Regions from separate parts of the Homo sapiens genome. Here regions 1, 2, 3, 4, 6 and 7 are each linked to region 5. The links are contacts of gene promoters, found by promoter capture Hi-C in blood cells and fetal thymus (Javierre and others, 2016). All regions are on one chromosome and are shown on one strand. Each heading gives the region's core, a stretch centred on a gene start or on the middle of the fragment in contact. The rest is flanking DNA. Distances are from core to core; before and after follow the strand shown.

Evidence for each region. The method cuts DNA at HindIII sites, captures the fragments that hold promoters and counts their contacts. A CHiCAGO score of 5 or more calls a contact.
Region 1: a fragment that was not itself captured here is called in contact with the fragment with the promoter of GNPDA2 in region 5 in 3 of 17 cell types (total CD8 T cells, M1 macrophages and naive CD8 T cells); the score reaches 9.5 in total CD8 T cells.
Region 2: a fragment that was not itself captured here is called in contact with the fragment with the promoter of GNPDA2 in region 5 in 3 of 17 cell types (non-activated CD4 T cells, naive CD8 T cells and total CD8 T cells); the score reaches 6.4 in non-activated CD4 T cells.
Region 3: a contact is called between a fragment that was not itself captured here and the fragment with the promoter of GNPDA2 in region 5, in 6 of 17 cell types (M1 macrophages, naive B cells, M2 macrophages and 3 more). The highest score is 9.0, in M1 macrophages.
Region 4: a fragment that was not itself captured here is called in contact with the fragment with the promoter of GNPDA2 in region 5 in 2 of 17 cell types (M1 macrophages and monocytes); the score reaches 6.9 in M1 macrophages.
Region 6: a fragment that was not itself captured here is called in contact with the fragment with the promoter of GNPDA2 in region 5 in 1 of 17 cell types (non-activated CD4 T cells); the score reaches 5.3 in non-activated CD4 T cells.
Region 7: a contact is called between the fragment with the promoter of DCAF4L1 here and the fragment with the promoter of GNPDA2 in region 5, in 1 of 17 cell types (non-activated CD4 T cells). The highest score is 5.7, in non-activated CD4 T cells.

The regions. Positions count from the first base shown.
Region 1 is chr4:47,007,863-47,011,395 of GRCh38, reverse strand. It overlaps a transcript of GABRB1 not described here. Among named protein-coding and RNA genes, the nearest start is that of GABRA4, 16 kb to the right of the region's middle. The HindIII fragment of the contact is 190 bases long and covers 1,267-1,456 here.
Region 2 is chr4:47,495,456-47,498,776 of GRCh38, reverse strand. The region is part of intron 1 of ATP10D (ATPase phospholipid transporting 10D (putative)); the gene reads right to left. Among named protein-coding and RNA genes, the nearest start is that of ATP10D, 12 kb to the right of the region's middle. The HindIII fragment of the contact is 3,976 bases long and covers 1-3,321 here.
Region 3 is chr4:47,479,079-47,482,518 of GRCh38, reverse strand. No RefSeq gene overlaps it. Among named protein-coding and RNA genes, the nearest start is that of ATP10D, 4.5 kb to the left of the region's middle. The HindIII fragment of the contact is 238 bases long and covers 1,538-1,775 here.
Region 4 is chr4:47,401,265-47,404,476 of GRCh38, reverse strand. It overlaps GABRB1 (gamma-aminobutyric acid type A receptor subunit beta1), which reads right to left. Exons shown (of 9, transcript NM_000812.4): 6 at 1,022-1,159; 7 at 766-918. Among named protein-coding and RNA genes, the nearest start is that of COMMD8, 61 kb to the left of the region's middle. The HindIII fragment of the contact is 495 bases long and covers 1,678-2,172 here.
Region 5 is chr4:44,724,880-44,728,473 of GRCh38, reverse strand. It overlaps GNPDA2 (glucosamine-6-phosphate deaminase 2), which reads left to right and starts at 1,918. Exons shown (of 7, transcript NM_138335.3): 1 at 1,918-2,000. RefSeq lists an enhancer at 1,586-1,715 and a silencer at 2,208-2,502. The HindIII fragment of the contact is 3,169 bases long and covers 701-3,594 here.
Region 6 is chr4:42,662,298-42,665,441 of GRCh38, reverse strand. No RefSeq gene overlaps it. Among named protein-coding and RNA genes, the nearest start is that of ATP8A1-DT, 6.3 kb to the right of the region's middle. The HindIII fragment of the contact is 2,230 bases long and covers 662-2,891 here.
Region 7 is chr4:41,979,702-41,983,217 of GRCh38, reverse strand. It overlaps DCAF4L1 (DDB1 and CUL4 associated factor 4 like 1), which reads right to left and starts at 1,462. Exons shown (of 1, transcript NM_001029955.4): 1 at 1-1,462. The coding sequence starts at 1,425. The coding sequence ends at 235. RefSeq lists enhancers at 200-972, 532-1,731. The HindIII fragment of the contact is 3,961 bases long and covers 1-3,033 here.

The DNA.
Region 1 (3,533 bases), core at 112-2,611, 2.3 Mb before region 5:
CCTTCTTGCTGTCCATTTTTCTCTGTAGTTGCCGCCCAGACAGTTCACAGCTGGGTTTAATACCTACTGCAGCTCCCTCAGTCCTGAGTGGGATCACAGGTCTGGGTCCAGCTCATACCTGTGGCCTTATTTTTGCAGCAACAATGATAAGGTGAGGTCTTGGGCAAAACAGGAAAGTCTTTGAAGTTTGTCCCTGGGCCCTCCCACCTTTTTCTGCTAATGTTTCCCACACAGCTGCATTTCCTCTCAATTTTTAGGTACTTTGACCTTTGAATTTCATCTACCATTGAAACTGCAACTAGTCTAATGCTTTCACTTTCACTTTGACTAAAACTTATTCACACCAACGTGTTAACTCTCTAATGTTTTAACACTTTTAAGATTTTTACCTCTAGCTGAAGAAGGACTCTCTGTCAGTGGCAATGAGTTTAAAAAAAAAAAGTGTCAGGTTCAAAAATCCACTGTGTGAGTTATTAATAGAACTAACACTTTGTTAGTGCTAACTATGTTCCAGGAGCTCTTCAAATAGTTTTAACATGTATTAACACATTTCATCTTTGATAAAAATCCTATGAAATAGGCACTATCATTGTCCTCATTTTGCAAATGACACTGAAACCCAGAGTGGAGAAGCAATGTTCCAAAAGTGAAACAGCTAAGAAGTTCAGGAGTCAGGATGACACTAGGTCAGAGCCAACAACATTCCAGCTTTGGGGAGGAAGATTCAGGAACTTTGCTACATAATAAGAATATATGGTGATGGCATGATAATTTCACAATAATAAAAGTTACTGGGAAATGTGGCAACATTTGAGTTGATCATATTTATTTGCATTGACAAAATAAAGTAAGCTCTGCATTGCTTACAATATTTCCTTCATTAGTGTGCAACACAATCATTGTTATGCAATCATTCACAGACTATTAGAGTAGGAGGCAGGAGACCTAACTACCATTAACTGACTAGATGTGATCTTTATTTTGTTACTTAACCCCTCAGGTTCTCATCTCTTAAGCAAGGATGAGGCAGAGATCTGAACTAAATAATGTAAAAAGTTATTACTGCTCTAATAGTCAGCAAATGGGTCTGGTTAGCTTTACTGGCTATATTTTATTATAGTTTGTTGCTCAGATAACATGATCATCTGATTACATCTTAAACATTTTTTTAAAAAGAAATACTTTGGTGATTGCAATTCCTCCTGCATTGTTTCATTACTTATTAAAGGAAGGACAAGACAGTGTGTGCCACTCATTGAGAAAGCTTCCTTGAGTATGCACCAAAGCAAAGGCTGGCTGAGAATCTGCAGCAAAACAGCCAAATTTATCCAGAGGTGAGCAGAAGCCTGGTTAAAATGTCAGCTGTGGTAGGTAAAGTTTATCTGCACAGAGTTGCACAGCTCATCCGAATGTCTTGTTTTGTGAACTGTTTAGTAGAGCCTTTAAAAAGGAAGCTTTCAAAGTATACACATCCATTAAAAAATACTGAATTTGGATGAAACTTTCAGTTGCTTATCAAATGGTGACCACCATCACATTCTTGGTTTTATTTATTTCCGTTCCAGGCTGAAGACCACCTGTTGAGTACTACCTCAATCACTCAGTGGTCAATACATAATGTTTTTGGCACACTTCTCCTTATCCAGTGGACAGGCCCTAAAACCCCCCAACTTAAATCACCTCAACCAATTAACTTCTCCACTCCTACAATCAAATTCCAGAGTACCTTTGGAGATAATCCACAATGGTATGGATTTTATGCTATCATACGACTTTGACATCATCTGGCTAACCAGAGGCCTCTTGTCAATGGTCATAAACTTGGTTTCTACAACTGGACTTATTAGCTCTCAAGTTCTATTTTTTTCTTCTTAAAAAAACTAAAATTGATGTTGTTCTTAATGTAAGCACATTAAACACATTAAACTTGGTAGATAGTGTTGATTACCTGTGTTAATGCATTAATTTTAGGTGTTATTCTTTAAAATTATATAGGTAAGCCTGTAAGGCAAATACATTATAATGGTAGTGTTTTTAAAACTTTTAATTATTATGGGTACATAATGGTATATATTTTGTGTGGTAAATGTGATGTTTTGATACAAAAACATATATTTAACTTTTTATAGATACATAATTTATATAAAATTTAATTAATAAATATTTTGAATATATTTATATTTTGTTTTATATTTATATACAAAAATATTGAGTGAACAAAATGTAGTATCTGGCCGGGCGCGGTGGCTCATGCCTGTAATCCCAGCACTTTGGGAGGCCGAGGTGGGTGGATCATGAGGTCAGGAGATGGAGACCATCCTGGTTAACACAGTGAAACCCCGTCTCTACTAAAAAATACAAAAAATTAGCCGGGCGTGGTGGTGGGCGCCTGTAGTCCCAGCTACTCGGGAGGCTGAGGCAGGAGAATGGCATGAACCCGGGAGGAGGAGCTTGCAGTGAGCTGAGATCACGCCACTGCACTCCAGCCTGGGAAACAGAGCGAGACTCGTCTCAAAAAAAAAAAAAAAAAAAAAAAAAAAAAGGTAGTATCTGATAGCGTGACAGGGTGAACTACAGTTAATACTGCTGGTATTTTTAAAAGTCCAGTTAAAATATTGGCTAGGTGCAGTGGCTCACGCCTGTAATCCCAGCACTTTCAGAGGCCAAGGCCGGTGGATCACTTGAGGTCAGGAGTTCAAGACCAGCCTGGCCAACATGGTGAAACCTCGTCTCTACTAAAAATACAAAAAAAAAAAAAAAAAAAAATTAGCTGGGTGTGGTGGCGGGAGCCTGTAATCCCAGCTACCCGGGAGGCTGAGGCAGGAGAATCACTTGAACCTGGAAAGCAGAGGTTGCAGTGAGCCAAGATCACACCACTACACTCCAGCTGGGGCAAAAGAGTGAGACTCCATCTCAAGAAAAAAAAAAAAAGTAAAATATTTTATTTTTTCCTGAAATGATAGTCCATATTAGAAGTTTTACAGTTGGCATTCCTTATATTCTAACACAAACTTTCTACTCTCTTCTATTATTTCTTTGTAGAATCTCATCTAGCCCACGTCTTATTTACCATTTATCATTTCAAATGTATATTTTAGGTACAGAGCACTGTTCTAAGTGACTATAGGGCACTTTTGGTTGTCCCACAATGATCATCTCTAGTTTTCTGCCCTCCAACTTCCTGTATTCTGTATTTAATGAATGACAACACTCAAGCATGTAACCAAGACAAAAATCTGGGAGTCATTTCTTGCTAACAAATACCAACAATGTCCATCTTGCCACCTAAATATTTCTCTAATCTTTCCTCTTATTTCTATCTCCACTGCCACTATTCCAGTTCAAGCAACCACACTCACCAATAATGCGTAAGGGCAAATTGTCGTGCCTGTCTCTATACTTCTCTTCACTCCAAAACATTATTTACCTAATCTCACAATCATTCCTCCCTGGCATCTCAGCTGTAACCAGAATGACTATTTAAAAATACAAACTTGATTTTATATATATATATATATATATATATATACCAG
Region 2 (3,321 bases), core at 412-2,911, 2.8 Mb before region 5:
AAGGCCATCTTGTTTACTGTTTTAACCAATAACTGGACAATGCCTGGCATATAACATGCCCTCAACGAATACTTTTCAGTGAATTAACAAACATTAATCAGGTTCTTGTTGCTATACCATGCATCCCAACAAATGCTCTTCAAATGGGATGCATCTTAAGAGAATAAGGGACAATCAATGTATAATAAGTATTATTGCATGAAGAAGTAGGTAGGTTCCTTTGCTGGAGATATACTTGGTTAATTCCATCTTGACCCTTAAAATGGCCTAAAGATTTTGCTGGAGAAAGTAACTATGTTTGTCCTCATACTACTGATGACTTAAGTTGTATTAGAGCAGTGGTCCTCAAATGGGGCCAATTGTACCTCCCCTTCCAGCCCCCTAGGACATTTGCTAATATCTGGAGATATTTTTGGTTGTGGAAAGAAGCCAGAGATACTGTTAAATATGCAGCAATACACAGGACAATCCTTCACAACAAATAATTATCTAGTCCCAAATGTCAAGAAATGCTGCTGCTGAGAAACTCTGGGTTAAAAGAAGCCATCACATTTGTCCAAGAGAGAGGTAAGTAGCACAGTGGAAAGAACAGAGTATTTCCGAGTCATGGGTTCAAATTCTGGCTCTCCCACTCAGCCCTAGTGGGACTTCTTATGACCCTCAGTTTTCCAATGAGGAAAATGGCAATGATATCATCTGCTCTGTAGGGTTGTTGTGAGGAGTTAATGGGAATGTACGTAAGACATCTGACATATAATAGATTAACAAATGGTAGCTATTCTTGCTTTTATAAGAATACATATGAATTGTTTGATGCCAACATTTCTTCAAAGTAGGAAAAGCATTTTAAAGATGCTTAACAGCTTAAACAAAAAACTCAGAATGTTAAAGCCAGAAAGAATGTTAATATCCAACTAAATACTTCATTTTACACAGAAGAAAACAGAGGTTTGGAAAGAATGACTTACCCAAGATTACACAGCAAGTTAGTGGCAATTCACATACAATAATCCTGCTGTTTGCTCCACTACCATTTTCTTATTCATGCATATATAGATAGGCTTTTATTAATTCCTAAACTATGTCATTATTTATGAATGTCATAAATTATTTAAGTCAATTTGAATACAATATTATTATGTTTGCCAGAATTTTATATACTAGTATGATTCAACTATAAAGTAAGCTAAGACTTCTACAGATAGGTACTTATCCTAATATTTTCATGGCCTATTTGAGCTAATCTGTGGACTCTGCCCCATTGTTTCAGTATCACCCTAACAAGTTCCATTATTACAATGATCTATTTTTTTTTTTATTTGAGACGGAGTTTCGCTCTTGTTGTCCAGGCTGGAGTGCAACGGCGCAATCTCAGCTCACTGCAACATCGGTCTCCCCGGTTCAAGCGATTCTCCTGCCTCAGCCTCCTGAGTAGCTGGGATTACAGGCACATGCCACCACGCCCGGCTAATTCTGTATTTTTAGTAGAGACGGGATTTCTCCACGTTGGTCAGGCTGGTCTCGAACTCCTGACTTCAGGCAATCTGCCCACCTCAGCCTCCTAAAGTGCTGGGATTACAGGCATGAGCCACCATGCCCGGCTACAATGGTCTATTTTTTAAATTAATATCTTATAGGCCAGGTGCGGTGGCTCACGCCTGTAATCCCAGCAATTCGGGAGGCCGAGGTGGGAGGATCGCCTGAGGTCAGAAGTTTGAGACAAGCCTGGCCAATGTGGTGAAACCCGTTTCTACTAAAAATACAAAAATTAGCCAGTTGTGGTAGCGGGCAACTGTAATCACAGCTACTCAGGAGGCTGAGGCATGAGAATCACTCGAACCCAGGAGGCAGAGGTTACAGTGAGCCGAGATCACACCACTGCACTCCAGCCTGGGCAGTAGAGTGAAACTCAGTCTCAAAAATTAATTAATTAATTAATATCTTATAAGATAAATATTAAAAATTATTCATTTCTGGTTTAATAGTCACATGAATAGCACAGTTGGAAAAAAAGCCTGAACAAACACAGAAGCCATATACTATAAATATATAGGAAAAAAATATTTTCAACTTCAGTAGTAACCTAAAAAAAAGAATTTAAGACAGAGTTAGCATTTTTTTGACTCTGAATGTAGAATGTAGCAAAGAGTTTCTTTATTCATAATGCTCAATGAAGGCATACATTCATATAGTTTTGGGGGACTTTAACCTGCTCTTACTTGTCTTACTTCTCTAGACCCATAGGATAATATGCTCTAAAAATGTCCTCTCTGGCCCTCAGTAGAAATATACTGAACTCAGCCTTAGAAAGTCACTACACAGCCGGGCGCGGTGGCTCACGCCTGTAATCCCAGCACTTTGGGAGGCTGAGGCAGGCAGATCACCTGAGGTCAGGAGTTCAAGACCAGCCTGACCAACATGGAGAAACACCATCTCTACTAAAAATACAAAATTAGCCGGGCGTGGTGGCCCATGCCTGTAATCCCAGCTACTCCGGAGGCTGAGGCAGGAGAATGGCTTGAACCCGGGAGGCGGAGGTTTCTGTGAGCTGAGATCATGCCATTGCACTCCAGCCTGGGCCACAAGAGTGAAACTCCGTCTCAAAAAAAAAAAAAAAAAAGAAAAAGGAAAGTCACTACACAAATGTTGAGAAATAGAGAAATTGTTGACTGCATTATATCTAATTGTGTTAAATCTATTTCTAATGGAAATATAAGACAGCTGTTAAAAATGATGTTTAGGCTGGGCATGGTGGCTCACACCTGTAATTCTAACACTTTAGGAGGCCGAGGTGGGCAGATCACCTCAGGTCAGGAGTTCGCGACCAGCCTGACCAACATGGAGAAACCCCATCTCTACTAAAAATACAAAATTAGCCAGGCGCGGTGGCGCATGCCGGTAATCCCAGCTGCTGGGGAGGCTGAGGCAGAAGAATTGCTTGAAAACGGGAGATGGAGGTTGCAGTGAGCCGAGATTGCACCATTGCACTCCAGCCTGAGCAACAAGAGCGAAACTGCATTTCAAAAAAAAAAAAAAAAAGTTGCTTAAAAGAATTGTTAATGACTCATAAAATGCTTAAAGTTTATAAAGTTTTAAAGCATGATTTAGACCTGTATACAAGTATAATCTCAACTATGAATATATACAATATATAAACATGGAAGAATTTCAAATAAAATATTTTTAAAAACATTAACAGTGGTTATTTTGGGATAGTCTATTAATAGCAGATTTTAATTTTTTCAGTGTTTTTATACTCTCCATGTTTTTTTTACCATTAACACATATACTTATTTTGGAATTAGAAAACAGAACTTCATT
Region 3 (3,440 bases), core at 407-2,906, 2.8 Mb before region 5:
TTTTCTGACTGACTTTTGGAGAAGGAGAAGGAGGAGGAGGAGGAGAAGAAGAAGAAGAAGAAGAGGAAGAGGAAGAGGAAGAGGAAGAAGAAGAAGATCAATGCTGCAGGCAATTAAACTTGTCCCTTGTAGATGAGCCCTGATTTTAACAACATAATCACAGGATTTTATGTCTCTTTTTTTCTTTCCTCAATATTCATTGAGTGCTAGTGAACCATTTCTGTTAGACACTGTACTAAGAAGTTTACAGCTATGACTTCGTGTATTCCTCTTATCATCCCTATGAGGTCATTCTTCATTTAGAGATGAGACATCTGAGGCACAAAGAGTTAGAGCAACTTATCCAAGATGGCAAGACAGCAGGTGAAAGAGCTGGCTTGAGAACACACATTCTTAATGGAGCTCTCTACTGTGGGCTAAGCAGCACAGCTTTCAATAAATTAGGGAAGTGAATAGTAAATGATTTTTGTTGGGATAGGGTAAAACCATGCTATGACTATAACTGCCTTGTTGACAGTAGAAATTCTTTATTTCTAGAAACAACAAGGATATCTACATTATTATTACTAGTTGTAAACATAGATCTTAATTTTATGTGTGCGTTTTTTTTTTAAAGAGGAAATACATTTCCTTCCCTTTGTATCAGGTGAGTCCCTTTCGTCCATAGGAGAACAAATTGGCTTTTAACCTTGTAAAAACCTTTAACATGCAATGATTACACAGGATATCAGAAAGGGAAAATCCAGATTAGCAGAGATCCAGGCTGGCCCCAGAGTTCTGGATAAGTCCGTCAACTATTTATTGATTCTGTTTATAATATCAAGAACACTGGTAATAGGACAGTAGCACAATTCCTTGTATGAAATGATGGCCCTTTAGTCTAGGAAAGATGATTAGTTTCTTATTTAGACAAAGATAGGTACCAGAGCTTTTTCTGAATAAATGTAGTTAAGAAAAAGAAGTATACATTTCTCTGGATAATGTGTATTTCCCCTAGTGACCAGAGAAGGCAGGAGTTTGGAAACTTTGGAGAGGTGAAAGGATGGGAGATAGTTCTACCTAGAGAGAAGATGGAATTCAGCTTCTAAGGAATGATATGTAATCTTGCATCAAATGTGGAATAAGACCCATGACCAATTCCCTGAATAGGTATTGGCTGAGTGACTTTCAGAAAGTAATATCTTAAAAGTTTCACTTTTAAGCTATTTTCTCTTTCTATGGTGCTGTATTCCTCACAAATCAGAGCTCAGGCAACAGGCTATGGGTACAGTGCAAGATAACACTATCAGCCTCTGCAACAGCTGCATGGGACCTGGGGTGTCTGGAGCCCACCATGGATAAGAAACTCATGGATCTGATGAAGAAGCCTGTGTTCCAGGCTCTCGAAGAGCACAACAAGTGGCCGAGAGAATGTTCAGTGGGGTTGGCGAGGAGACTGGGCCAGCACAGCTCTAGACACCCCAGGTCCCATGCAGCTGTCTTAATTTTCACATATCTTTATTCTTTATTTTCACAGTATGTTCTGCAAATAAAAGCTTGGCATAAAAAACTGAACTGGATTCAAAATCCATTCACATTATCACAAGGAATTCCAGTATTACATTACCCAGTAAAATATTAGTTGGAATATTGTGACTGCCAATATTCAACCAGTTTTGACATAAAAATGATAGCTTTATGTGGTTCAACTAATAAAAAAAAGGACTATTAGCATCTTTAGGTATAATGTCAATTATTGCACAGTCTGGTATGGTTGTAAAAGTCATTCATAAGCTTTTGTCACATATTTGAGTGAACAGAATTTCTCATTGAGAGTAATTATCAAGAATTTGAATGAATCATTATAAAGTATCAAAAATTGTAACTAGACATTTTAAGCATAAAACCTCATATGAAAATGCACCCAAAAAGAAGCTAGACACAAAAGTCTACATATTGTTTGATTCCATTTCTATGAAATTCCCAGAATAGATAAAGCCATAGAGATCGAAAGTAGAGTAGTAGTTGCCAGGAGCTGGGGGAAGAGAGGAATGGAGCATGACTGTGAAGGGGTACAGGGTTTCTATTTGGTGTGATGAAAATGTTCTGAAATTAAACCACTTAAAAGGGGTGATTTTTATGGTATGTAAGTTATATCTCAATTAGAAAACATATAAGAAAAAATGTTCACTGAAGCAAGCAAAAGATAAGAATTTTTAAATGTTTTATGAGGATATTGTATATGAACTCAAAGTTTAATATTTTTCTCAATACTTCAAATTTTAGTTTTTAACAATTCTGTAATACAAGGAAAACACAATGAAACTTTATACCAAGCCCCACAGAGATCAGTTAGTTTACTTCATGAGGCTGTACAGGTATCATTTTTCATGAGTGCTAGCACATGAAAAAGTACTAAAATCTCTCTGCTGTATTATCCTCCAACCTGTAACGAAGTCTGCTCTGACCACTGCCCCTATCAATTGGGTCGGGAAAGTTGGGAAGGAATGTCTGCCTGAGAGGAAGAGGCCAGAGAAAAGATGGCAAACTTGGAGGCTATATGACCAGTTAGGATTAAAAATTCATGGGAAGGTCGGGCGCAGTAGTTCACACCTGTAATCCTAGCACTTTGAGAGGCTGAGGCGAGCAGATCACTTGAGGTCAGGAGTTCGAAACCAGCCTGGCCAACATGGCGAAACCCTGTCTCTACTAAAAATACAAAAAAATTAGCCATATATGGTGGTGGGCACCTGTAATCCCAGCTACTTGGGAGGCTGAGGCAGGATAATTGCTTGAATCCGGGAGGCGGAGGTTGCGATGAGCCGAGATTGCGACACTCCAGCCTGGGCGACAGAGCAAGACTCCGTCTCAAAAAACAAAACAAAACAACAACAACAACAACAACAACAAAAATTCACAGGAAGCACAAATTCTGGCTAGGAAATGATTAACCCCTCCTTTCTCTGTGAATCTTGTAATCAGGAGGAAGTTCTAGCTATTTTATTTGAATTTTGAGGGATAAAGCAACCTTAGAAGGCAGAAAGAATTTGAAATATGTGGATTAAAAATCAATTCTACAATCACTAGAAAAAGTTGGACCAAAGTGAATTAAGTCTTCAGTTTCAACCCCTCTGTACCCAGAACTTTGTATATTTTGTTCATTCACTTATTCATTGAACAAATATTAATAGAGCACTGAATATGTGGCAGGCACCATTTCGGGCGCAGGGAATATACAAAACAAACAAAAAGCCTTGCTCCTTATTGGATGGATGTAAAATATTTAATATAACAAATGGCAATGTGTGCTATGAAGAGCACTGCAAGGTGAGGAGGAGAGAGAGTGCCAGAGTAGGGGAGAGGGATAGCTTTTGATTTGGGGAAGGTCTTACCAAGAATGTGACATTTAAGCAAAGATCTGAAGTAGGTGAGCGAGAGAGCCATAAGGGTGTCTGGGGATG
Region 4 (3,212 bases), core at 676-3,175, 2.7 Mb before region 5:
GAATTAGCCCCAGAAAGAGATAACTGAAATGGCTGTAGGATCAAATAATGACACAGACTTGCACATCCCCAGATTCACCAGACAGACCTTACACATTCTAACCTTCCAAGGAATCCTTTAAAGTCTCAAATATAGCCTGTCAGCTTTCAGCAATTAATTAACCATGACAGGATTAGTTCTAAATTTTGTTCCCCCAAGAAGGAAATCATTTTTATTCTGTCTTGACCACAGATTATTAATATAGCTGATGAATTGTCTGTGCCTTATTCAAGTGTAATAAACTCCATTTAAAGGAGACGTGGCTTGATACGATTTAATTTTAGTTAGTATTCAAAGGATAGTATTTCTCAGCAATTGACAGCTTGTTATTAGTCACAAGGTTTAGCTTTCTCCAAATTCATTTGAAAATAGTGCATTGTATATGTTCTTCACTGTTAAAAGCAGGCATTAAAGGGGAAGTCATCCCAAAGTTAGTAAAAACTAGTGTAATGAGAATTTAAAAATATATTCCATGAGACACTTAAGTAGTGCTAGATATATTCCAAGATTTTTGTTTGTTTGTTTTGGTAAAATGCTAAAAAGACAGTACATTGTAGAATATTCGTTGTGGACATTCTTACATTTAGATGTTTTATATTCAGGGACTTGTAAGATGATCTAATTCTTTGGCTTGCTATAAGAGAGCCCTTGCCTATAATTCCTGATATTGGTTATTTGTTTGAAAGTAAAATCTGTTAGCTCTCTGCAGTGCTGAGAATGTATTACCTAGTGCGACTCTGGCTGCAGATGCATCATAGTTGATCCAAAAAGACACCCAGGACAGAATTGTAATCAGTGTAGAAGGCATGTAGGTTTGCAAAATGAAGTAACCAATGTTTCTCTTTAGACGAAAACTTAGTGACAGTCGTGGATACGCTCCTGAGTTGAGAAACAAAAGACAAGTAATCAGACCATTATTTGGTTGGAACCATCTTCTTCCTTTCACAGCACCCCTAGTACATTTTGGGGGAAACAACCTCACCTGTTGTGAACTCCACCTTCTTAGACACCATCTTGTAGTCAACAATTGAAAATTGAGGAAGTTCGATTTTATTAACACCAGTGACTGCCCCTTCTCCTCCATTCCAGTAAAATTCAATGTCATCAGTGGTATAGCCATCTGAAACCAATAAAAACAGCACGGTTAAACAAAGTTTAGGAAATCATTTTGAATACCATCTGGGAGCTAGAGGAAAAATTCCCAGCACAAAAGTGGTAAGGTGGCATTGCTTTAAACTAGGGTGGTATGCAGGTCTCATGTGGAGTGCTATTTCTGATGGTTTGTTAGTAGCTTCATTGAAAGAATGGGTGCATCTGGCTTTACTGGACTTAAGCTCTGGATCGTTTAGTGATATCTGATGTCATTGCTGCAAATTTATTCTTATTGTATCTACTAATTTGCATTCCTTGATTAAATTGGGGGATGGCTGAATTCTAGGTACCTGGACATGGCTTTGGCTATGTGCTACTTAACAACAACAATAGCACAACAAGTAATAATAATTGAGCACATATTTGTTAAATGGATAACAGATAGTGTAAAGAGATGAAGTGTAATGAAAGACCAAGTTTATATATAGCCATTACATGATTAAGACATTAAAAACTACATATTTCTTTTAGAAAATTTGGCAAGCTTTTATTAATATCCTTTGATTATAGCTAATATTATTATAGCTAATATGTGGGTGAAAGTCTTAGGACTACATAAATTTTTGATAATGCTTTTATATCTTTATACTTATGAGAGTGAACTTTAGTTAATTTAAGGGGAATGTGTAGGGAACTGTAGATTGTAATAGAAGGGCTTGTCCTCAGGTCTTCAGCATGAAGGCCCTTTGCTGATGGCCTAATCTCTTCCTCTTCTCACTCTACTCCCACCTGGCAGTGGTCTAGCTGGGTTATCATTATGTATAAGAGTAACTTGCATAAGAAGAATGTACAGATACATTTTAAAAATCTAAAAATAATTTTAGGAATATTTTAAGACTATATTTTTCTCTACCAGCTAGAGACAAAGAAGCTCTTTCTAAATTCATTTTCTATTTAGGTTCACCTCAAATAAAAAAGCAAAAAATCTTTTTTTCCATTAGAATTGCAGGGGCTAGTGTTTCAAAGGTAACCACATAAGCTTTTTGTAGTGGACACCATGCTGATCTACTTTTGATTAAAGCCAGTAATACCTTTTCAAGAGATAAAAAATGATGTATTTGATATTTAGAAGTTGAATGCCAGGTGCCAAAGGGTCACCATCAACTTGTCCTTGCAGAATGTAAGAAATTTTAAGCTATTTTTCCCCACTCCCTTCCCCGCTTTTAAAAAGGAAAACAAAACTGTCTTAACTTTACTGCTTTAAACTGGCTTCCAGATATAATCACCAGTGTCTGAAAGACTAAGACCCTCTTTACTATTGGACTTAGAATAATCTACATGGGACTAATTGGCATATTGGGGACTTTACCAAGTTTGGGTATGATTCTGTAAGACTGATTCTAAATGTCTCCTTGAGAATTTGATAAAAACCTGCCAATAAAATCCATAGAAAAATATACACAGATAGATAGATAGATGATAGATAGATAGATAGATAGATAGATGATAGATAGATAGATAGCTAGATAGATAGATAGATAGATGGAATTTGATGGCAATTTCAGGAGATCATGGATCCCATTCATGGATTTTAGAATACAAAACTCCTTTCTTAGTTGAAATGGTTAGTGGCAATATGACAGCTTATATTCAACCCAGATTCCTTCCTTTCCAATTCCAATTCAACCATGAGTTACCTCTCCTAAGCCCAGCAGGAAGTAGTATCTGGGGAATGTGAGTTCTCAGCCCTGTCTGGATCCAGTGGACAATGGCATCATGGGATTTTCTTTCCCCCCTCAGCCACTAGAGAGAACCTAGGGACTGGTGGCATGGAGTCCTTGGGTGGGGATTAGAACAGTGAGATCAAAGAAGATAGCTGGGTGAAGGGGCTGTTGGGCCTACTAAAGAAGGAAGGGTATTACCACCTGTATGACTGTCTGGAGGAACTTCTGTCATCTCAGTCCTTTAAGGGGATGTGGGAAAGTTAAAAAAGTGGGCTGAGAAATCGCCATACTGTTTTCCATAGATATTGTGCCAATTTACATTCCTACCAACAGAGCATAAACGTTTCCATTTCACAA
Region 5 (3,594 bases), core at 669-3,168:
CGCCTATAATCCCAGCACTTTGGGAGGCCGAGGCAGGCAGATCACGAGGTCAGGAGTTCGAGACCAGCGTGGCTAATAAGTGAAACCCCGTCTCTACTAAAAATAAAACAAAATTAGACGGGCGTGGTGGCAGCTGCCTGTAATCCCAGCTACTCAGGAGGCTGAGGCAGGAGAATTGCTTGAACTCAGGAGGCAGAGGTTGCAGTGAGCCAAGATTGTGCCATTGCACTCCAGCCTGGGTGACAGTGCGAGACTCTGTCTCAAAAAAATAAACAAATAAATAAAAATAAAAATAGAAATAGAATGAATACACTCTAAAATAATGATAAAGAGTATAATATAGCAAATACATATACCAGTAACATAGTCATTTATTATCAAGTATTATATCCTGTACATAATTGTATGTGCTAGACTTTTATGAGACTGGAAGCACAGTAGGTTTACACCTATGTAGCCACAAACACGAGTGGTGTTGCTCTACAACTTTACGTTTACTACAATGTCGCTAGGTGATAGGAATTTTTCAGTTCTGTTATAATCTTATGGGACCATTGCCAAATATCCAGTCCATTCTTTACCTAAACTTCCTTATGTGGCACATATCTGTAATTCAAGACTGTAATTCAGTCTCCACCTTTCTACAGCATTCTTTCTAAAACACGTATGTTCTAGTCTCTTATCTTCAATTCATAAAGCTTAAGTGACTCCCTATTGCCTACAATACAAAGCCTAAATTCTATGCATAGCCTACAAACTACTTCATCATTTTACCTCAATCTTTTTTGGAGAGACAGGGTCTTGCTATGTTGCCCAGGCTGGTCTCCAACTCCTGGGTTCAAGCCATCCATGCACCATGACCTCTGAAAGTGCTGGGATTACAGGCGTGAGTCACCGAATCTGGCCAAAAATCGCTTTTGCAAACTTACTGAAGGCGATAGTACTAATAAACCTGTCTATTATCAGTATGTGAGCAATGTTGCTGTTTGAAGCTAAATCAACGAGAATGTAACATCCTACTCTTCACTAAAGGATGCAAGAGGAGTCATTACATTCAAAGAAGCAGGCTGGATTTACAACCCAGGTGAAAAACTTCATATAACGAGTTTGAGGACACAGCGTTTTACATTTTTTTAACTTGTAGTTTCCACAGAAACAGAACCTTAAGTTGGCTAGGAGTCAAGATTGTATTGTTCCTAACAGAACCCTAAACGGTGTTATTAATGGAACAGTGTTCCTGATGGAACATGGTGAAGACACAACACACTTTTCTCCTTTTGAATGATAGCTGCTTTCTTTACAATAATTTCCACAGCCCAATTCCTTCCCACTCCTGTATAAACATCTGTGATACCCAGCTCAAAGCTGATTCCAGCTTCCCCTATCCCTTTCTTAGACTCATTCAGCAAAAGCCAGTACCCTATTATATAGTGTTTTCTCTTACTGAGACGCTCCCGATTTCCCATGGTACTGTTTGCCCTTTTGCAAACTTTGATGAGTTTTTTGACACAAGACGCTTATCTGTCATTGCGTTTGCAAATATGCATTCAATAGCTTGGAGTAGAGAGAGAAATGTATTCATAAATGGCAAATATATTCATGTTGCCAAACAGCAACATAAGCAACAAAGTACGTGTGAGCACTACGGTCTTACATACTAAATCTCATAAGCCTAAAGAATCTACTGCAAATCCCTCTTTGAAAGATGGGGGGGAGGGGAAAGTAGCGTAAAGTGATGACCCAGAAACTGCGATCTTCCAGGCAAGAAGAGCGCCCAGCCGCACCGCACTCGGACCGAACTCCTCGCGTCTCACCTCAGGCGTCCTAAAGGCGGTGCGCATGCGCAGCGCCCGCCAGCCACGCCGCGGTTCCTTCCTGCGCCTTTATCTGCATCCGGGTCCGTGGGATTCGCGCTCCACTGGTCAGCTGGGGTCGCTCTCGGGTGGTTGGGTGTTGCTTGTTCCCGCTGTTCCAGCATCGAAGAACCATTGGGTCTGCCGGTAAGTTTAGCGGGGGGTGCGGCGGGGGCGCCAAGAAGGGGACTCGGGTCGGGGGACCCGACGGCAACTTCGCCCTGTGCGGCCTTTGTGCTGAGACTGGGACGCCGGGCCGGGGCGGAATGGGTGCTCAGGAACCTCGAGGCTGGGGGCGCGTGGGGTCTCCCGTATTGCCACTCGCGGACCTGGTTGTCCTCTCCGGATTTGTGCCTACGGGAGAAGGCGTCCCTGCCCTCTCCTCTCTCGCGGCTTCTTCTTGACACCTCTCTCTACACTCGTTAAAAATTCCTAACAGTCATCCTCATTTGCATTCGCTGTCCTTTGCCAAGTGAGGGCCAGGCAAACGCGCAGCTGAGGGGAATCTGCAGCCCCCGCCTCCCGGGCAGGAACCACAGCCTTCTTTGCTGTCTCTCGTCCCTCCTCGGGTCGGTCCCACACGCGCGGCCAGGCCACCCTTACGCTTTCAGGACAGGTCAGGTTGAGTAGGGAAAAGCTCAGAGCAGAGGTTCTGCAAGTGTAGATTCTGGTCTTGGCCCCGCCATTAACTAGCTGTGTAACTTCACGGGTGTAGAAGTTGTCATCCACCATTGAAGTTTTGCGATTTATATTCAGCAGCCCTTTTTCCTAGCGATGCACATCCAAAATGAATCAGCACCTGAAGGAAGACGAGGGAAAGGGTGGTGCTCTGTTGTTTTTTGATGCTGTCTTGTGATGCCAGAGAATTGCATAAGGCGACAATAGTTTGGATCTCTGAGGATTGGCAAAAACTGGAAAAGTCAAATCTTAAAAACTTAAATGTGGTGAAGAAATTCTTCTTTGCTCTGGGTGAAGGGATTCATTTGGGACTTTTGGAGGTGACTCTGCGCCCTCCAGAGAGTTTAAGAAAACAAAAAGTTGCCTGTACCTTGGTCTGAGAGACTTGCTTAAACTTCGTTTCAGTGAGATGTGTGGTGTTCTTAACAAATTTCACCTGATTATGAATATCCCCTGTGATAATTTGCAAAAGCAGAGATTCCTTGGACTTCATTTCAGATCTTTTGAAACACTGTGTCTAGGGAGAGGGACCTGAGAATCTGTATTTTTAACTAGCATCGTAAGTGATTCTCAACCGGTAAGACATCTTTGGCTAATGTCTCTTTGAGTCAGAAACACTTAGTTTTAAAGCCAGCTCCCCGGGCCACTTTTTAACGTCAGCAATAAACTTCTCGTAGTTGCAGTTTTCTGTATATGAAGAGTGAGAATAATGCTTTCAACCTCAGAGACAAGTGATTCTAAGCCCTTTGACAATAGAGTTAATCATTTTTGTGTCTACAGAACCTAGCATAGTGCTTAGAATATAATAGGTCTTCAAACGTGTGTTGAACTGAGAAAAATAACATGCCCAGGATGCAGAAGACATTGGAAAGCTCTAATGCTTCTCGTCCTCCTTACCTTATTTTTTTTCCGTTTTATTAACAATCAGCTGGCCATATATTCTTGTTAGAAGTAAATATATCTTTTGATGTTCATTACAGCCAATAATTCTTTCTGATTCTTTGGTTTAACTCTAAAATTGTTTTTGACATTAGATTATGGATTATATTTAAGTGGAGGCTGA
Region 6 (3,144 bases), core at 527-3,026, 2.1 Mb after region 5:
TGCTGGGATTACAGGCATGAGCCACTGCGCCCAGCCTATGCTTGATTTTTAATAAAAATTCTGGACTTTCCCCCGTCAATATTTTTTACCTCATTATTGTGACTTTGTCTCCTTGAAATAACACCTAATGTGACATGGTGAGAAAAAAAAGCAAGATTTTCTTGGGAGGTTTTTTTCCTTCCCTTTTTCTTTTTCAATATTGACTTTCTGGTCAACATCAAGAAAATAAATTATATAATAATATTTTTCTCCACTGGTTATCCTTTTCATACATCAAACATCATACCATACTGTTTTCAAAATAAAAGACATAACATGCAGTAGAAACAAAATGTTTAGTGTAAATTTTTAGATACATTGCAAAAGCCCTATAAGCAACATTAAAGGGTTTCTGATATAGGTGTGGAGGCCCAGAAATATTTGGGGATACAATCATTATATACAGATACAGCCTAGCTTGCCCAGAGTACAATATACCGTGGTAATTTTATATTTATTCACATAATAATTTGATTAGTATTTGTCTTCCTGATGCAACATACATTCTATAACAGTCTGGATCCTGTCTGTTTCAGCTGACCACTCAATTTCCAATATCCTGCTCATTATCTAAAACATGGTGGGCACTCAATAAGTTGTGCTGAATGCTGATGAAAAAGCTTATCTAGTTACAGATAAGAACCATTCCATGGGTCAAGAGGAAACTTTTGGAAGGAATGGATATGTTTCTTATCTTGAATGTAGTGATGGCTTCACAGTTATATATATGTATCAGAACTTAAATTCTACATGTTAGACACATGAAGTTTATTGTATATCAATTCTACCTCAATAAAGCTGCTTTTAAAAATGTCTAAATGTATGACAATATTATGTTGATTGTCTTATACACAAGTTCAGGGACTATTTTATAATAATACTTTGTATAGAAACCAGCATTATTGAAATGCTGTTTGGTAACCTTTGGAAAAGAAGCAGCACTTCTAATTAAGTATGAATTTTTCACATCTTGGCTCTGATATGCAGGAAACTTTTAAAGTAAAAAAAAAATAATTTAATTAATCTCTTTTCATCTGTTTGAAATAACGCTATTGAATGTAAGATCCAACACTAGATATTATGATACAGCAGATCATTTCCCTTTGAATGTGCATTTACTTTTTGAATAAAATACTCAATAAGTGTTTTTCCCAAAAGATTGTGTGTGAGTTGAACCTGATTTTAAATATCCTGGAGATACTAATTCTTTAAAAATTTCTTTCAAGAGTTCTTTCATATAATACAAAACTGCATTTTGAAACTCTAGTTTCATTTAAACAGGAGCAGAATATTTTCAATTATATTGAAGAAAACATTGTTGTACTTTTTTGTTGGAAATACCCAGTATATGCAGAAGATAATAACATTAAAGACACTATAACTTTGTATTAAGACCTTGCTAAGGTGTTTGAAAAGACAGTAGTACTACAGGTATGAGAAATGAATCATAGTTGTGAGGGAAAAGTATTGATTTTATCATTATGAGTAAGAATAAGTGACTAAATTATTCAATGACAGCAAATTTAGAACTTTTGGTTGAAATTGGTTTATATTTAAAATTTGATCACTTAATTTTGACATTAATTTTTGTGGCACAAGGTTTTGCTGATATCAAATACTCCAAAGCAAATATGTTCTAAATTATTTCATGCAAATAATTCTCACAAAATAATATACCCCAATAAACATACTTATGAAGGACATAACTTATTATCTCTTCAGATGGAACACTACCTATCCTTCTACTCATTTCCAGTTTCCAATCTGAGGGATCCAGTTCATTTACATTCATTCATTCAACAACTATGTATGAATCCTGGACTGTATGACAGACACTGTTGTTAAGGTTGAACAAATTGCAATTAGCAAGACAAACGCAGCGAGAACTATTTATCATAAACAGGTAAACAAACAAATAAGAAAACTCCACATAGTGATAAGTACTATGAGAAAAATAGAATAAGGCAATGTGGCAGTGTCTAGCATTGGGGATAGTGGGGCAATATTAGCTGGAGTAGGCTGGAATCATCTGAGCCCTGTGGACGAATGAGGGGCTAGAGAAGCTGAGTCTGAGAAACAAGCAAGGGCAGGATCATAAAGATTTGGTTTTCTTCCTGAGTGCCATGGGAAGCTACCAAAGAGTCTTAAGAAATAACATGAACCAGTTTGTGTTTTAAAGCAATAATAATAATGGTGGCTCCCGTGAGACGAATGGAAGACAGGCATAGAAGCAGGGCGACCAGTTAGAAAGTATGGCAGGCAAGCGATGATGGTGACTTGTACACAGGTGGTAGAGGTAGAGATAAAGTAATGTGCATAGAATGAAGGTACATTCTGGGAACAGAGCCTAAACATCTCGCTCGTGTATTGGAGGGTTGTGCATATAAAGGTGGTGACACAAAGTAAGCAATCAAAATGAAGAAGGCTGGGGCAAAGAAAGTCCCTTACAAGTCTAACAGTATAATGATACTTTAACCATACACTATGCATTAAATTAATATATAACACCCATGATTATAGATACCAAAGCCTAATCTTCACTTGGAATAACCAGGCAGCTTTGCTATTAGATAGAATTTTACATCTCAACCTAAATGTTAAACTAAAAGATGTTAATTATGTAAAACTTAAGATTAATTTACCCGTTTCTTTAGTGCTTCTGCAAAAGAATTGGAAGTATAGTGGCCAGCACTGCTTAGTGTATGTATTGTATGGTTGTGTGGTAATCCACTTTCCATGCCTCAATCTCAATCACAAGCAGGGTTCTCAGCCATGTCTCCAACAACCCCCAGGACATGAGTTTCCAAAGCACCTCCAGCTGCATTGTGAGTTAACAAATTAGTGAGCAAGCTTTTCTCACCTACTTGACTATAAGTTTCTCCCAAAGGGGACCAATTCATAATTTTGGGGGTCCCAGACAATGACAAACCAGGTAATATCAAGTAATTAATAAGTGCAATTCCTCCCAAGATAGGAATATCCTCTGATATCTCTTTTGGATTTTCTGGACTTGGTCATTTTTTGGCTGATGCCTTTGGAGATTTAATTTTAAAAAATTTTTAACAGCTTTATTAAGATATAATTCACATAACATACAATTCACCT
Region 7 (3,516 bases), core at 213-2,712, 2.7 Mb after region 5:
AAGAGGAAACAGGTACCTTTTATGAAAAGGACTTTCAAGTTAAGTCCACAGTTTAACTGAAATAACTTTACAAGAACGTCTCCACATAAAACTCTTAACACCTTACCCCTGGCAGCCGGATGGATGCGATCTATATACAACACGTCTCTTAAAATGCTCTCACAGAAACGGTAATAAGATACTCTTAACTTCCTTAAGTCAAATCCACATTCGGCCGCGCTGCCACCTGCAGAATTAGCTGAAGGGGAAACAATAAAGGTCCTGCCGGACAGCCATGAGCAGCCCTGGTGCTGCTCCCCGGATGCCCCCGAGCCGAGAAGCGAAGGCCACGCTGGGAATGTCGTCCTCGGAGGCAGAGTACGGGGAAGGGATGGTTCTGAGCAGGTGGGCATCATGGAGGCTCCAGATTCTCGTGTAGCAGTCCTGGCCCACTGCCACCACGATTCCCTCTTCCTCGTGCACATGCAGGGGCAGATAGGCGGACTCATTCACGTGACCTTCGTACTGCCTTACACATTTAGTGGCCCTCAGATCCCACAGCTTGATCTTTCCAGTCATGTCTGATGCCATCAGGCATTGCTCTTCTTGGAGGATTTGCACAGAGGTCACTGCTGAGTCATGGAACAGGCGAGTGGCCCTCCACCCCTTGCCTCGATTTCTACAACGCAGATCAATGGCAAAGATCTCCCCGGAGCGACAGCCATTAAACAGCAAAGGAGCCGTACTAGCAAACTGCTGGGCCAAGACATCACTGCTGGTATCAAATGACTGCTGGTGTCCCGTCGCCACGCTGGTCAACAGGACCTGCTGAGACAAGCCTGCACTAAAGCAGTGATATGCCCGGGTGTTGAGGGACCACGCACAGGACCAGGCCTCTGGGATCTGGAAACTGCAGAGCATGCCAGGCTGGTTAACTCTTGTGTGAACACTTAAGAACCGCGACGCTGGGAGCAGCACTGCACAGCTTGGAGCATCTGTGATTCCCTCGAAGCACAGCAGAACGTGAGAGTCCAACTGGTTCAGCGAGGCCCAGCACAGGGACTTCACCTTCCGGTTGGGGACGTAGAGGTTTCTGAGCACGTACACGTGGAACGAAGGGATCTTCAGAGTTCGCAGGCTGATGATGCCGTACTTGGAGCCTTCGACTTCGACCTGGTTCACTACGAAGAGCTGGTCGCTGTTGGTACTCGCCAGAATGAAGTTAAATCGGTCGCTCGCCAAAGAGGAGGGATCCAAGCTCCGAATTTGGACCTTTTTCCGCTCCATGCAGCTCACACGCAGCTCGTTGGCTAAACGGGAGTAACTGGTGACGTTGAGGAAACCTAGCTGGCTTTTTCGGAGCATGGAAGATGCATTAAATCCCATTCTGGCTACCTTTTTCAGCTTGGCCTCTTCCTCGAGGAGTCGCAGCCTTTCAGCCTCCATTTCCTCCTGCGGAATGTTCCTCGTGACAGGAAATTCTGCAGGATGTTCTTCTCCGTGACAGGATGTTCTTTTCCGTGACAGGAAGTTCCGTCCGGGTGCAAGCGGAAGTGTTGCTACTTTTTATCCTCTCTATTCTAGGAGGAAGTCCATTGTTACAGATGTGTATTACAAATCTCTTTTCCTACTCTGTGGGTTGTCGTATTCTCTCAGTGGTGTCTTGATGAAAGGAAGTTCTTGATGTTAAATTTTTTCCTTTCTCTTTTTGAGACAGGGTCTTGCTCTTTCACCCAGGCTGGAGTCCAGTGGCACGACCACGGCTCACTGCAGCCTGGAACTCCTGGGCTCAAGTGATTCTCCTACCTCTGCCCTACTTAGCTGGGACTATGGGCTCACAACACCATGCCAGGCTACTTTTTTTGTAAAGATGGGGTCTCCCTGCTTTGCCGATGCTAGTCTGGAACTCTTGAGCTCAAGCAGCCTGTCCGCCTCAGCCTCCCAAAGTGCTGGGATTACAAGCATGAGCCCACGCGCCCTGCCTGTATTTCTTATTTTTTTATTTTTTATTTTAAGACGGAGTCTCGCTCTGTCGGCCAGGCTGGAGTACAGTGGCGCGATCTCGGTTCACTGCAAGCTCTGCCTCCCACGTTCACGCCATTCTCCTGCCTCAGCCTCCCAAGTGGCTGGGACTACAGGCGCCCGCCACCACGCCTGGCTAATTTTTTTTGTATTTTTAGTAGAGACAGGGTTTCACCGTGTTAGCCAGATGGTCTCGATCTGCTGACCTCATGATCGGCCCGCCTCAGCCTCCTAAAGTTCCGGGATTACAAGCGTGAGCCACTGCGCCCGGCCGCCTGTATTTTTAAAATACAGTTAGAGACCAGCCTGGGCGGCATGGTGAAACTTTGTCTCTAAAAAAATACAAAGATTAGGCCGGGCGCAGTGGCTCACGCCTGTAATCCCAGCACTTTGGGAGGCGCAGGCAGGCGGATCACGAGGTCAAGAGATTGAGACCATCCCGGCTAACACGGTGAAACCCCGTCTCTACCAACAATTAAAAAAATTAGCCGGGCATCGTGGCGGGCGCCTGTAGACCCAGCTACTCTGGAGGCTGAGGCAAGAGAATGGCGTGAACCCGGGAGGCGGAGCTTGCAGTGAGCCGAGATCGCGCCACTGCATTCTAGCCTGGGCAACAGAGCAAGACTCTGTCTCAAAAAATAAATAAATAAATAAAATACAAAAATTAGCGGGGTATGGTGCACACCTGTAGACCCAGCTACTCAGGAGACTGGGAGGGAAAATCACTTGAGCCTAGGAGTCTTGGAGGGAAAATCACCTGAGCCCTGAAAGTTGAGGCTGCAGTGATCACCCCACTGCACTCCAGCCCAGCTGGGAGACAGAATAAGACCCTGTCTCAAAAAGAAAGAAAAATAAGTAAATAAATTATGAATTTATCCAAATTGTCCATTTGTTTCATTAATGGTTAGTGTCTTTCATGTTCTGTTCAGGACATTAGTACCTATTACATGATACTAGTAAAGTTTTGGGGTGTCTTCAAGAGGAGGCTGATATCTCCAGTCCCCATCTGGATGTTTCCTTTGCCACAAAGCTTGCTGACTCCCCTTACGCTATGAATTTCCAGGAATTTTGGAGGACTGGGGAGAGTTGGTAGGGACTACAGAGAAATCCGGTGATATCTGGACTATGGATCCTGTCGGAATCTACAGGCCCCAGAGCTGGGATCACAGAGAGCACAGGAGATTGAGGCCCACACACTTGCCATGGAACATAACATGGGACAAGGGATTTCTATGTATCAGAAGAATGTGTTTCACCACTGCCAAATGGAAGTCAGCTGACAGATGCAGAAGTCTTGCAAAGGGCTATCAAAGCATAGAGGACTGCTTGATACTGAGTTATCAGTGGGGCTGTTAGGAACCCCATATATTCTAACAATGACCTACAGAAAGCAGATAGCAACATGGCGGCAGTCAGACATTTAAGGCATTGCCTGTTTTCCTTCTTAAACCTCCTGACCCCACCATCGGAAGAGCAGGCACATGGAAAAAAAGGGGTGTGTATAAAGAAAGTTGG